2 separate regions of the Homo sapiens genome follow, and region 2 is linked to region 1. Evidence: promoter capture Hi-C in human tissues and cell types (Jung and others, 2019). All regions are on one chromosome and are shown on one strand. Each heading gives the region's core, a stretch centred on a gene start or on the middle of the fragment in contact. The rest is flanking DNA. Distances are from core to core; before and after follow the strand shown. Region 1 holds the start of CREBL2 (cAMP responsive element binding protein like 2). Region 2 overlaps DUSP16 (dual specificity phosphatase 16).

Evidence for each region. The method cuts DNA at HindIII sites, captures the fragments that hold promoters and counts their contacts. A contact is called where the count stands out against the background at its distance.
Region 2: a contact is called between a fragment that was not itself captured here and the fragment with the promoter of CREBL2 in region 1, in 4 of the 25 tissues and cell types used here (adrenal gland, hippocampus, mesendoderm cells and 1 more).

The regions. Positions count from the first base shown.
Region 1 is chr12:12,609,161-12,614,409 of GRCh38, forward strand. It overlaps CREBL2 (cAMP responsive element binding protein like 2), which reads left to right and starts at 2,716. Exons shown (of 4, transcript NM_001310.4): 1 at 2,716-3,027. The coding sequence starts at 3,013. RefSeq lists enhancers at 2,085-2,836, 2,430-2,509, 2,560-2,609 and a silencer at 2,770-3,069. The HindIII fragment of the contact is 23,854 bases long and covers 1-5,249 here.
Region 2 is chr12:12,508,711-12,513,959 of GRCh38, forward strand. All of the region lies in intron 3 of DUSP16 (dual specificity phosphatase 16), which reads right to left. Among named protein-coding and RNA genes, the nearest start is that of DUSP16, 52 kb to the right of the region's middle. The HindIII fragment of the contact is 5,128 bases long and covers 1-4,862 here.

The DNA.
Region 1 (5,249 bases), core at 1,466-3,965:
ATCCTCTTACCTTCAACTTATCACCACATAGATATTAAACTTGATCTGTATTATTTTTTACCAGATGCTTTGTTTAGTGAATGGTCTAAGTTTTCTGTATGTCACCTCCTGGATTATAAAGTCCTTGAGGATTTACACTGTAATTTTAGAAGTTAATACACCTACTAGGTGCAGTGGCTCATGCCTGTAATTCCAGCACTTTGGGAGGCCGAGGCGGGCGGATCACGAGGTCAGGAGATAGAGACCATCCTAGATAACACGGTGAAACCCAGTCTGTACTAAAAATACAAAAATTAGCTGGGCGTGGTGGTGGGCGCCTGTAGTCCCAGCTACTCGGGAGGCTGAGGCAGGAGAATGGCATGAACCTGGGAGGCAGAGGCTGTAATGAGCCGAGATTGCACCACTGCACTCCAGCCTGGGTGACAGAGCGAAACTCTGTCTCAAAAAAAAAAAAAAAAGTTGCATGGGACACACTTTCCTAAAAGAGTATTTGCGGTTTATCTGAAATTCGAATGTAATTGAGTATTCTGTGTCTATATTGCTAAATCTGAGAACTCTACCTCAGTTGGATTTTGCAAGGGTTGAGAAAGCACTTTGTGAGTCTTTGAAAAGGTGTGAGCCAAAGGGCTCTTCAGGAGCAGCATTGACAAATATGCAATCTTTGTCAAGTTCTCAAAGGCCCGAGGTAGGCCAAAACAAAAACAACAGTAAAAACAAGCTCACTGACTTTATTAAATGAGGACACAGCCAGTTATTTTTAAAATAACTTTATTGAGATATAATCCACTCATTTAAAGTGGTTTAACTACAGTTAAACTACAATTTAGTGGTTTTTAATATATTCACAGGATGTGCAACCATCACCAAAATCAATTTTAGATAATTTTCTTTTCTTCTTTTTTTTTTTTTTTTTTTTTGAGTCGGAGTTTCGCTCTTGTTGCTCAGGCTGGAGTGCAATGGCACGGTCTCAACTCACTGCAACCTCCGCCTCCTGGGTTTAAGCCATTCTCCTGCCTCAGCCTCCCACGTAGCTGGGATTACAGGTATGCTCTCCCAGGCCTGGCCAACTTTGTATTTTTAGTAGAGATGGGTTTCTCCATGTTGGTCAGGCTGGTCTCGAACTCCTGACCTCAGGTGATCAGCCCACCTCGGCCTCCCAAAGTGCTGGGATTACAGGCGTGAGCCACCATGCCCGGCTGAATTTTAGATCATTTTCATCACCTCAAAAAGAAACCCAGTACTCATTAACCGTCACTCTCCTTTCCAGGATCCCTCCATCCCTGCCATTCTTCAACCCTAGCCCTTGGCAACCACTAATGGATTTTTTGGTCTATTTAGATGTGCCTGTTCCAGACACTTCATTATAAATGGAATCATACAATATGTGGCCTATTGTGTCTGGCTTTTTTCACTTCACATAAAGTTTTCAAGGTTCAGACATATTGAAGTGTGTATATCCCTTCATTTTTTTTCATTGCTGAATAATATTTCTTTCCTTTTTTTTTGAGACAGAGTCTTGCTCTGTTGCCCAGGCTGGAGTGCCGTGATCACAGCTCACTTCAGCCTCCAACTCCAGGGCTCAAACGATCCTCCCACCTGGGCCTCCCGAGTGGCTAGGACTACAAGCACCACCACCACACCCAAGTAATTTTTAAATTTTTTGTAACACACCCAACTAATTTTTAATTTTTTTTGTAGAGACTGCATCTTACTATATGGGTCTTCTTCCTTCTTCTTTCTTCTTCCTTCTTCTCCTTCTTCTTCCTTCATCGTTCTTCTTCCTTCTTTCATTCTTCTTCTTCTTTTTTTTTTTTTTAAATACAGTGTCTGGCTCTGTCGCCCAGGCTGGAGTGCAGTGGTACAATCTTGGCTTATTGCAGCCTCTGCCTCCCAGGCCCAAGTGATCCTCTCATGTCAGCCTCCCCAGTAACTGGGATTACAGGCATGTGCCACCACACTCGACTAATTTTTGTATTTTTTTGTAGAGACAGGTTTTGCTATGTTGCCCAGGCTGGTCTCGAACTCTTGGGCTAAAGCAATCCTCCCGCCTCGGCCTCCCAACGTGCTGGGATTACAGGCGTGACCCACCACCCCTGGCCAGTATTTCTTAATTTGTATAGTCCACACTGGTTTATCCATTCATCCAGTAAAGGACATTTGCGTTGTTTCCACTTTTTGACTATTATGAATAATGCTGCTAGGAAAGAACATTTATATACAAGTTTTTGTGTAGTCACTCGTTTTAATTTCTCTTGGGTATGGGAGTGGCCAATATTCTGAAGAACTGCCAAATTTCTTCCCAAAGTAGCTGCACTATTTTACATACTTAGTTTTTGTTTTTCGTTTTTTTTTAAATAAAGAACCTTTAGGGTTTCCTCAGCGTCCCAGAGGAGGGCCTGCTTCCGGCACCCCGCCTTCAGGGCTGCCTCCGCAGAGCACCAAACTCCCGTCCCCGCCATTCCAGGCCCTGGCACTTAGGAGCCAAAACCTCAGGTCAGGCGCACTTTGGGCCTCCAGCCCAGCCCCGCCTCCTCAGCGCTAGCTAGTAGGCAAAAGGAAAACAGCTGCCCCTTAATGAGGCTATGTGGACATCGTAGTTTTTTTTCCAGTCAGTAGCGCAGAGACTGTGATAAGAAAAATCACAATTCCCAGAATGCCGCGGTGCTACGGCAGCCGAAGGGGCCATTCCGTGTGCAGCGCTCCCGCCCACCCTCCGGTCTCGGCGGCTCTCCAGAGCGTCTGTAAACACCCAGAGACTGTCATGGAGGGGGAGGAGGAGGCGGCGGCGGCGAAGGGAGGCGTTTGGGGCCGCCTCCAGGGTCCGCTCTGCCATTCCTGAACTGGTCCCTCGTCCCCGTGACTCTGGCATCAGGGAAGCGAACTGTTAGGCGAGAGGAGGAGGCAGCCAGAACCATATCCCCTTCTTCCTCGGGGCGGGGGCCGGGCCAGGCCGGCTGAGCCGGGGGAGGGCTCCGGGAGGGAGTGCCTGGCCAGGCCGGCCTGTCTGCCGCGATGGATGACAGTAAGGTAAGTCTTGTGGTTTGCACGCGCCGCCGCCTTCTTGTCGCTCAATGCTAGTCCCGCGGCTGAACCTCCGCTATGTAGTCCACGCCAACACCCAAGAGACACCTGCCTAAAACATCCCTGCGCCTCTCCAGTCCACTGCCCGATGGTACCCAGCCAGGAAATCAGGGAACACCGGGGCTGCGTTTTTCCAGGAAGGGCCCTCTCTGGAAATTTTTCACTCCCAGGGCGTTTGCTAGCTTTCCAGGTAGTGCAACCCCTAGTCCTTAACTTGCCTGTCGAGATAAGAAACTACTGTACTTTTTCTTCTTGCACTTTTTTGCTGCCTCCTCTCTCCAGTTTGGAGACTTTAGTGCACGCTGAACCAGCCTTATTCCCCTTGACGATTCCCCTTCTCTCAGGCTCCCTTACTCAATGCCCCATTCATATAATCAGTTCACTCCCCCTCTGAGCTATTTCCTGTGGTTGGTTGGAACACCGCTAAGCTCCTGTTGCTATTTGGCCAGTGTGGAGTTTAACCTCCACTAGAAAGCCTTCTCTAAAAAAATACTGATTTTCCTCTTGTTAACTTTAATAGCCCATCACCATCCAATTTCCCTGTCCAAATCACTTACTTTATGATTATAAAATAATAGATAATGTTCATTATTGGTTAATCCAAATAGTTTATCTATGTATAGCCTTTTTGTCTTTATTTATTAATTGAGACGGAGTTTCGCTCTTGTCGCCCAGGCTGGAGTGCAATGGCGCGATCTCGGCTCACCACAACCTCCGCCTCCCGGGTTCAAGCGATTCTCCTGCCTCAGCCTCCCGAGCAGCTGGGATTACAGGCATGCACCACCATGCCCGGCTAATTTTGTATTTTTGGTAGAGATGGGGTTTCTCCATGTTGGTCAGGCTGGTCTCGAACTCCCAATCTTAGGTGTCCGCTCGCCTCGGCCTCCCAAAGTGCTGGGATTACAGGCGTGAGCCACCGCGCCTGGCCGCCTTTCTCTCTTTACATCTACCCACATTAGTGTTGTTTAGTTTTATTTCCTGAAGATAGGGATGGTCAAAGATTTGTTTATTGATGTTTCAGGTTGTTTTGGATTTGGACTTTTTTATTTTAAGGAATCAGACTTCTAAAATTTGCCAGTTTTTAAAGTAAAAACCGTCCTTCTTTGTGCTTCTCAGCGTCTTCTGTTTCACAGTCTTTGGCATACTCTTTACGATAGCTTTGTCCTTTGTTTGGGTGTCTTTTTTTGCTGCTGCTGCAGTTTTTGTTTCACATATCCTCAGAGAGATTCAAAAAATTTCCAACTTCTCTGTGTTCCTTGTTTTATTCTTTCCTTCTTGTTTTCTCTTCCTCTTCATGTAGAAGGCTGTGAGGAAGTGACAGATGGAAGGGAAAGCCCAGTGCAGTACTCTGGAATTGTTACTCACCTAGAGGAACGGATTGCTTGTGAAGTAGTAAACCCCTCTTAATAGGAAGTGGTATTTCCAAGACAGAAGGGGGGCGAGTTTCAGGAAGCTATCAGCTCATAAGAGTGCTTAATATGCTCAGTACACACATTAATTCCCTTGACAAGAATCTTGCCCTTGTTTGTTTACAACAATGCAACAGAATGCGGGATAACATTGTAGACTCTTCAGTTTTACTATAGTAACATTCGTGGGGTATGATATTGGGGAAGTGGTATTTCCAAGACAGAAGGGTAGCGTTCTAAAAGTTTTCCAGAAAAATCAGCAAGTAATTTTTTTTTTTTTTTGCTTTGAATATTTCTTTGGGGAGGGGACATCACACTTCTTTCTTTTTTCTTTTTTTTCTTTTTTTTTTTTTTTTTTTTGAGACGGAGTCTCCGCTGTATCGCCCAGGCTGGAGTACAGTGGCACGATCTCGGCTCACTGCCGAGAATTGCTCTTGGGTTCAAGCAATTCTCCTGCCTCAGCCTCCTGAGTAGCTGGGACTACAGGCGTGTGCCACCACATCCAGCTAAATTTTTATTTTTCGTAGAGACAGGGTTTCACCATGTTGATCAGGCTGGTCTCAAACTCGAGTGACCTCAGGTGATCCGCCCACCTCAGCCTCCCAAAGTGCTAGGAATACAGGTGTGAGCCACTGCGCCCGGCCAGGACATCACACTTCTACTCAATGAAGATAAACGTTTTTACACCTTTTGTCTTTTTTACCCCTATTATGCCACGAATTCATAGGGAATAAGTTCTAGTAGCTCAGGCTGTTTTCC
Region 2 (5,249 bases), core at 1,049-3,548, 100 kb before region 1:
TCCAAAAGAGCTTGCCCTATATTAAACAACCCTATCACGTGACACAGTTGGGAAATGGGAAATTCTATCTAATTTTGGTATTAGGACATATGCAACAGTTATGACATACACAACAGTTATGACATACACAACAAATGAATGAAAAATTTTCAAAGCACCAGCAGACAAATCACTAAACACTAAAATTATGCAACTTATAATTTCTTATGACTCAGAATGTCCAGATCTTATAACTCAGGATAATATTTAAATCAACTCCATCAGCAACATCCAGATGTGTTATTCAAGAAGGAAGAGTTCTCAGAAGATGTAGACTGGTAACTATTCTGCTGATCTTTTAAATTGGCAATACATAACTATGCCCAGAAAAACTCCTCTTAAACGTCCTGAAACAAAGATTGTTCTAAAGACTGCAACCAGAATAACCCATCAAAAGGAATACAGCCAGAATCTACCACTTGGCTGAACAGAATTAACAAGCTCTGTAGGTAGGAGAGCCAGAGTCACAGAGTCTCCCTACTATTTTCCTAACACATCTGTGCTTTCCCGCCTTTAGGCTTTTGAAAAGTCAACCTTTCCAATCCATTTTGTATTTCCTTCTAAACCACAGGCAAGCACAAGTTACACCTCTTCTATAGCAGTATGGTCCCAAAATTTTTTTACCAGGATCAACAAAATACATTTTACACTCAAACCCTCTGAACACCTACACATACTCACCACTAAGACAAAAGTTTCATGATACTATCTTCCCTAATTCTGTTGCGTTTAAAGAAAAAAAAAAAACAAACTTCCTTGAGCAGCGTATCTAGACATGGTCCAGCTTAGAGGCTCTATAAAATTTATACCAATCATTTGGCAGTACCTACCACTGACCTAGTAACTGTGAAATAACTGTGTATGTGTTGTGACCCGTCTTACTTCTCCAGCTATTGTGAGCTGCTTATGGATAAGAATTATCCATAATTCTTTGTAATTACCTCAGCATTTAGCATAGTGCCTGGCACATAATTAGAATTCAATAAATGTTTATTGAATCCTTCCTTGTTACAATGAATAGCTGTTGATGGACATAAGTCTTGTATATTTTTGGTGTTCCGAAGGATTTCCTGATTCCATTCAAAGCCAAAAGCTAGTTGGTGTGGGTGGGGGCACAAAATCTGCTTCCTATTCCTAGACCACAATGCCCCAGAAGACTCTCAGGGTGAGTGAGGAGGCACAGGGCAAGAAAAAAACATTTTTTCTTCTACTACAGGAAAAAAGATAAAATTGGCGAGTGTCACTTTGGTTATCCAAAAGCGACACTGAATCCTTACTATGATTCTGCTGTATCCACAGGACTTTACATAAAAGGGAAAGAAAATTTTTTCTGATGCCCCTAAATGGCGCAGGACTCCACACCGGTGTGGAGAGTCCCGTAATATATCTCCATGGCTCAGGGAATCAGGGCACATCCCATAGGAAACCAATGAGACACCAACTATGATTATACCCCAGATGAGGATGGTGTGGCTGCTGGACATGTCTATAATCATCATCAAAATGGATAATGAAATGAGATTATCCATAGGGGAAACTTGATGAGTCAAGAGGAAAAAGGAATACAAGTCTAGTGTCTGGAGAATTATTCAAGAATAAAATCTGACTAACTTGTAAACTGTCCATGAATCACACTATACAGCTCACTTCTCAGGCTATCCATGTGAAGCGCAAAGCTTTCTAAGCCATCTAGCCACAGGCTCTCCCCTAAGACCACTTCTGTATATTCCACTCTGTGTACAGTCCTCCTCTTTGGCCAACTACACATTTTGACAAGAGACGTCATAGAGCAGTGAGGGAGAAAGGGATAACTGCGTTTCACATATAAGTTCAAAAAACACTTAATAGCACCTACTATGAGTTTGACATAGCGCTAGGTAATGGAACAGTGGTGACCAAGACAGAGAGCCTTCTCTGGAGTTGACAGTTTTATGGGATAAACTTTAACCAAATAATTAGATGAATAATTAACTAATTATGGTAAGTGGCCAAAGGCATATGGAAACCAACTTTGCCTGGTAGCTAGGGAAGGCTTGACAACCACATTGAATCTAGCAGGAAAACAACTAGGTAAATAGCAGAGAGAAGAGCCCAGGGCAGAGGACAGAGCCTCTGTGAAGGCCCAGGGTGCATGATGTCTTAGGTTTAGAGCAACAGGGAGGAGGCCTAAGGAGCTGAGGCAAAACAACAACTGAGGACTTAAAGTGGCACTGGATGAAGTTAGCAAGGTAGGCAGAAGCCAGCCACTGCAGGGCCTTGTGAATCAGTTAAAAATTTTGTAACTTATCTTAAGAGCACTGCATATTATTGATGCATATTAAACTGGGAAGTGATGTAATCTGAATTAGTTAAAAACACAAAATAAAAATGTAACTTTGGCTGCAGTGTGAGCAATGGATTGGAAGGTGGCAAGACAGAGCATGTGAACAGATCAGTTAAGAGGCTCCTGGAGCAACCTGGGGGAGGAATAACATTCAACTGACTTCATGGTAGCAGAAGACCAGAAAACCAGACAGACCGAAGAGGTTGGAAGAAAGATCTGGTGACTAAGAGATGACAGGTATTGCAGCCATATCTCCAATAGCTCACAATACCCATCACCTTAAAGTACAAATTCTTCCTTCTGATTTAAAGAGCTTACATAATTTGATCTCATGTCCTCTCAATTCCCATTTCTCTCCTTCACAAAAAATCCACTCTGGTCTGCTCACTGCCCCTCCAAATCTATGTTCATTCCTGACATTTTTAATCATGTTCTTTCCCCCTCAGAATGCGCAGAACCCTCCCTACCCAAATCTTACTCCTCATCTTTCAAGGTTTGATTAAAATTCCACTGCCCTAATCAAGTCTTCCCTGACTTCTGCAGACTACTCTGAATCATCCCTTATCACTGTATCATACATTTTAGCAAATGATCATATACTTCTCTTTCTTTCATCCACTTTAGGTGCATTTCCCCAAATTAACCACTACATTCTCAAAGGCAGGGGCAAGCCTTTTGCTTTTCCAATATCTTCACCCCCGAGAGCCCAGTCCAAGGCACAGCCATGGAGGCACCCATCAAATATTGAGAGGCTGAGTGAGTGAAAGGGCTGAAGAATATGCTGGACCTGGTGTTTCTCTAGACTACACAGCTGCCCCACCTGGGGCAAGGGAAGATTGATGTCACTGTTGTCATCTGGGATGCTTTTGTTTGGTTTGTGCACAATATCAGGATGGGGAACCAAAGGACTATCTTTAAGCTTTAGTTGGCTCTCTAGTCTGTTTGTTTCAAAAGACAATCTCAAGCATGTGTCTTAGCCACTGGTAGCTGGGAAGAGACATGACTGACTCTCCACACTGGCAGATAGCAATCGGAGAAAAGATGATCCAATTTAGACGAATTCATGCCAACTGAGACTCAGAAACAGAGCCAGAAATACACAGCAGCCAGTGAGCAAACAGCACCTTTTTCCCCAGCTTTATTGAAGTATGATTAACAAACAAAAATTTTATCTGTTTAAGGTGTACAGCATGATGATGTGATATACATATACACTTGGAATGACTACCTTACCTCACATAGCCATGCTCTTTTTGTTGTGGTGAGAACACTTAAGATCTACTCTTTCAGCAAATTTGAAGTATATGGTACGTTTATTGTCAACCGTAGTCACCATGCTGTACAATAGGTCTCTAGAACTTACTCATCATATCACTGAAAGTCTGTACTCTTTAAGCAGCATCTCCCCATTACCCCAGCCCTCCAGCCCCTGGTAACCACCGTTCTACTGTTTTCATGAGTTTGACTCTTTTAGATCCACATGTGATACCATGCAGTATTTGTCTTTCTGTGTCTGGCTTATTTCAATTAGCATAATGTCCTCCAGGTTCACCCATATTGTTGCAAAATGGTAGGATTTCCTTCTTTTTTAAGGCTGAATATTCCATTGTGTGTGTATGTGTGCATACAGCATCTATTTTTAGTCTGTTTTCAGTGACTCTCAGTCACTGTAGTTTTTTAGACCCAAGAGCAGCCAGTTCCTTAATAATTGGCATACTTTTACTGAAATCCATTAATTTCAATCTCATTTACCAAGTTCTACAGGATTCGAAATGGAATTACTGAAGATTTCCCTTCTCCAGACAAAGGAGAAGAAACACCAAACTAGATAACAGAATTTATGGTAATAGCACAAAGAGCAAAATCCATAACCAGGAAGATCAGGTTCTATCATACCTCCATGAGGAAGGACAGTAATCAATTCTATTAAACCAAAAGTATACATTTATTACACAGAACTGTCATCAGAATCTAGATCCTTATTAAATTGAAAATGTGTAGAGTCTAATACATTTTTGTTCACTCGTAGGTCTAACTACAATAGTTAAGTTCAACTCAAAACGAAGAAATGAGTATTTGGCCTTTAACCATAGCAAACATTAATCGAAGACCTTTGCTGTGTTCTTAATAAATGGTATCTTCTATCCTTATTCACAGCTATACACCAGCATAAAACAGAGTAGACTTTTACTTGATGATCTCTTCTGGCTAACATAGTTTAATGCTTTAAAACAATTTATATACAGTGTATTTTTATAGATTGCTATATTCTATAAAGTATGAAGAATATGACTGAAATTCTCAAAAAGACTGAGAAAGAGCTATTACAAAAAGAGCCTTTCAGAATAAGCCTGATCTGAAATGGGCACCCTTGATTCCCAATCTAGCCTCCTGACAAAATTCCAGAAGACTCTGGAATTACTTGTGGATGTGGGCCTTGGGCAGCAAGAGCTTGGGAGAGTCACTCAGCAGCTCTGTTATTTTCCTCATTTGTAAATGAAAGGGCTGAAGTCTGTGGTTCATTTATGGTTTTCTCCCGCAATCGCTGTAGGGTTATTCTGTGCTGCATCACAGGACAGAAGGGAGTGCTGTGGAATTAATAAGCCTGGCAGAGCCCTTTTGCTTTTACTCAGGCTGTACTGGGGAAAGAGAAGGACATAGTAGAACAGCATTTTTCACATGCAGGTTGATCTTTATTTCTACTAAATTAACCCATTTACTCTCTTTTCCATATGTCAGCATAAAATAAAAGCCCAAATTCAATAGTTTTCCTTTTTTTCACATATATTTACTTCTAATCTGGCGCTCTTAGAAATAGACAAGTAGAATAAACTGATACATAGTGAATAAGTAAAAGCCAAGAAACAAGTTTATTTTTCAGAGAACT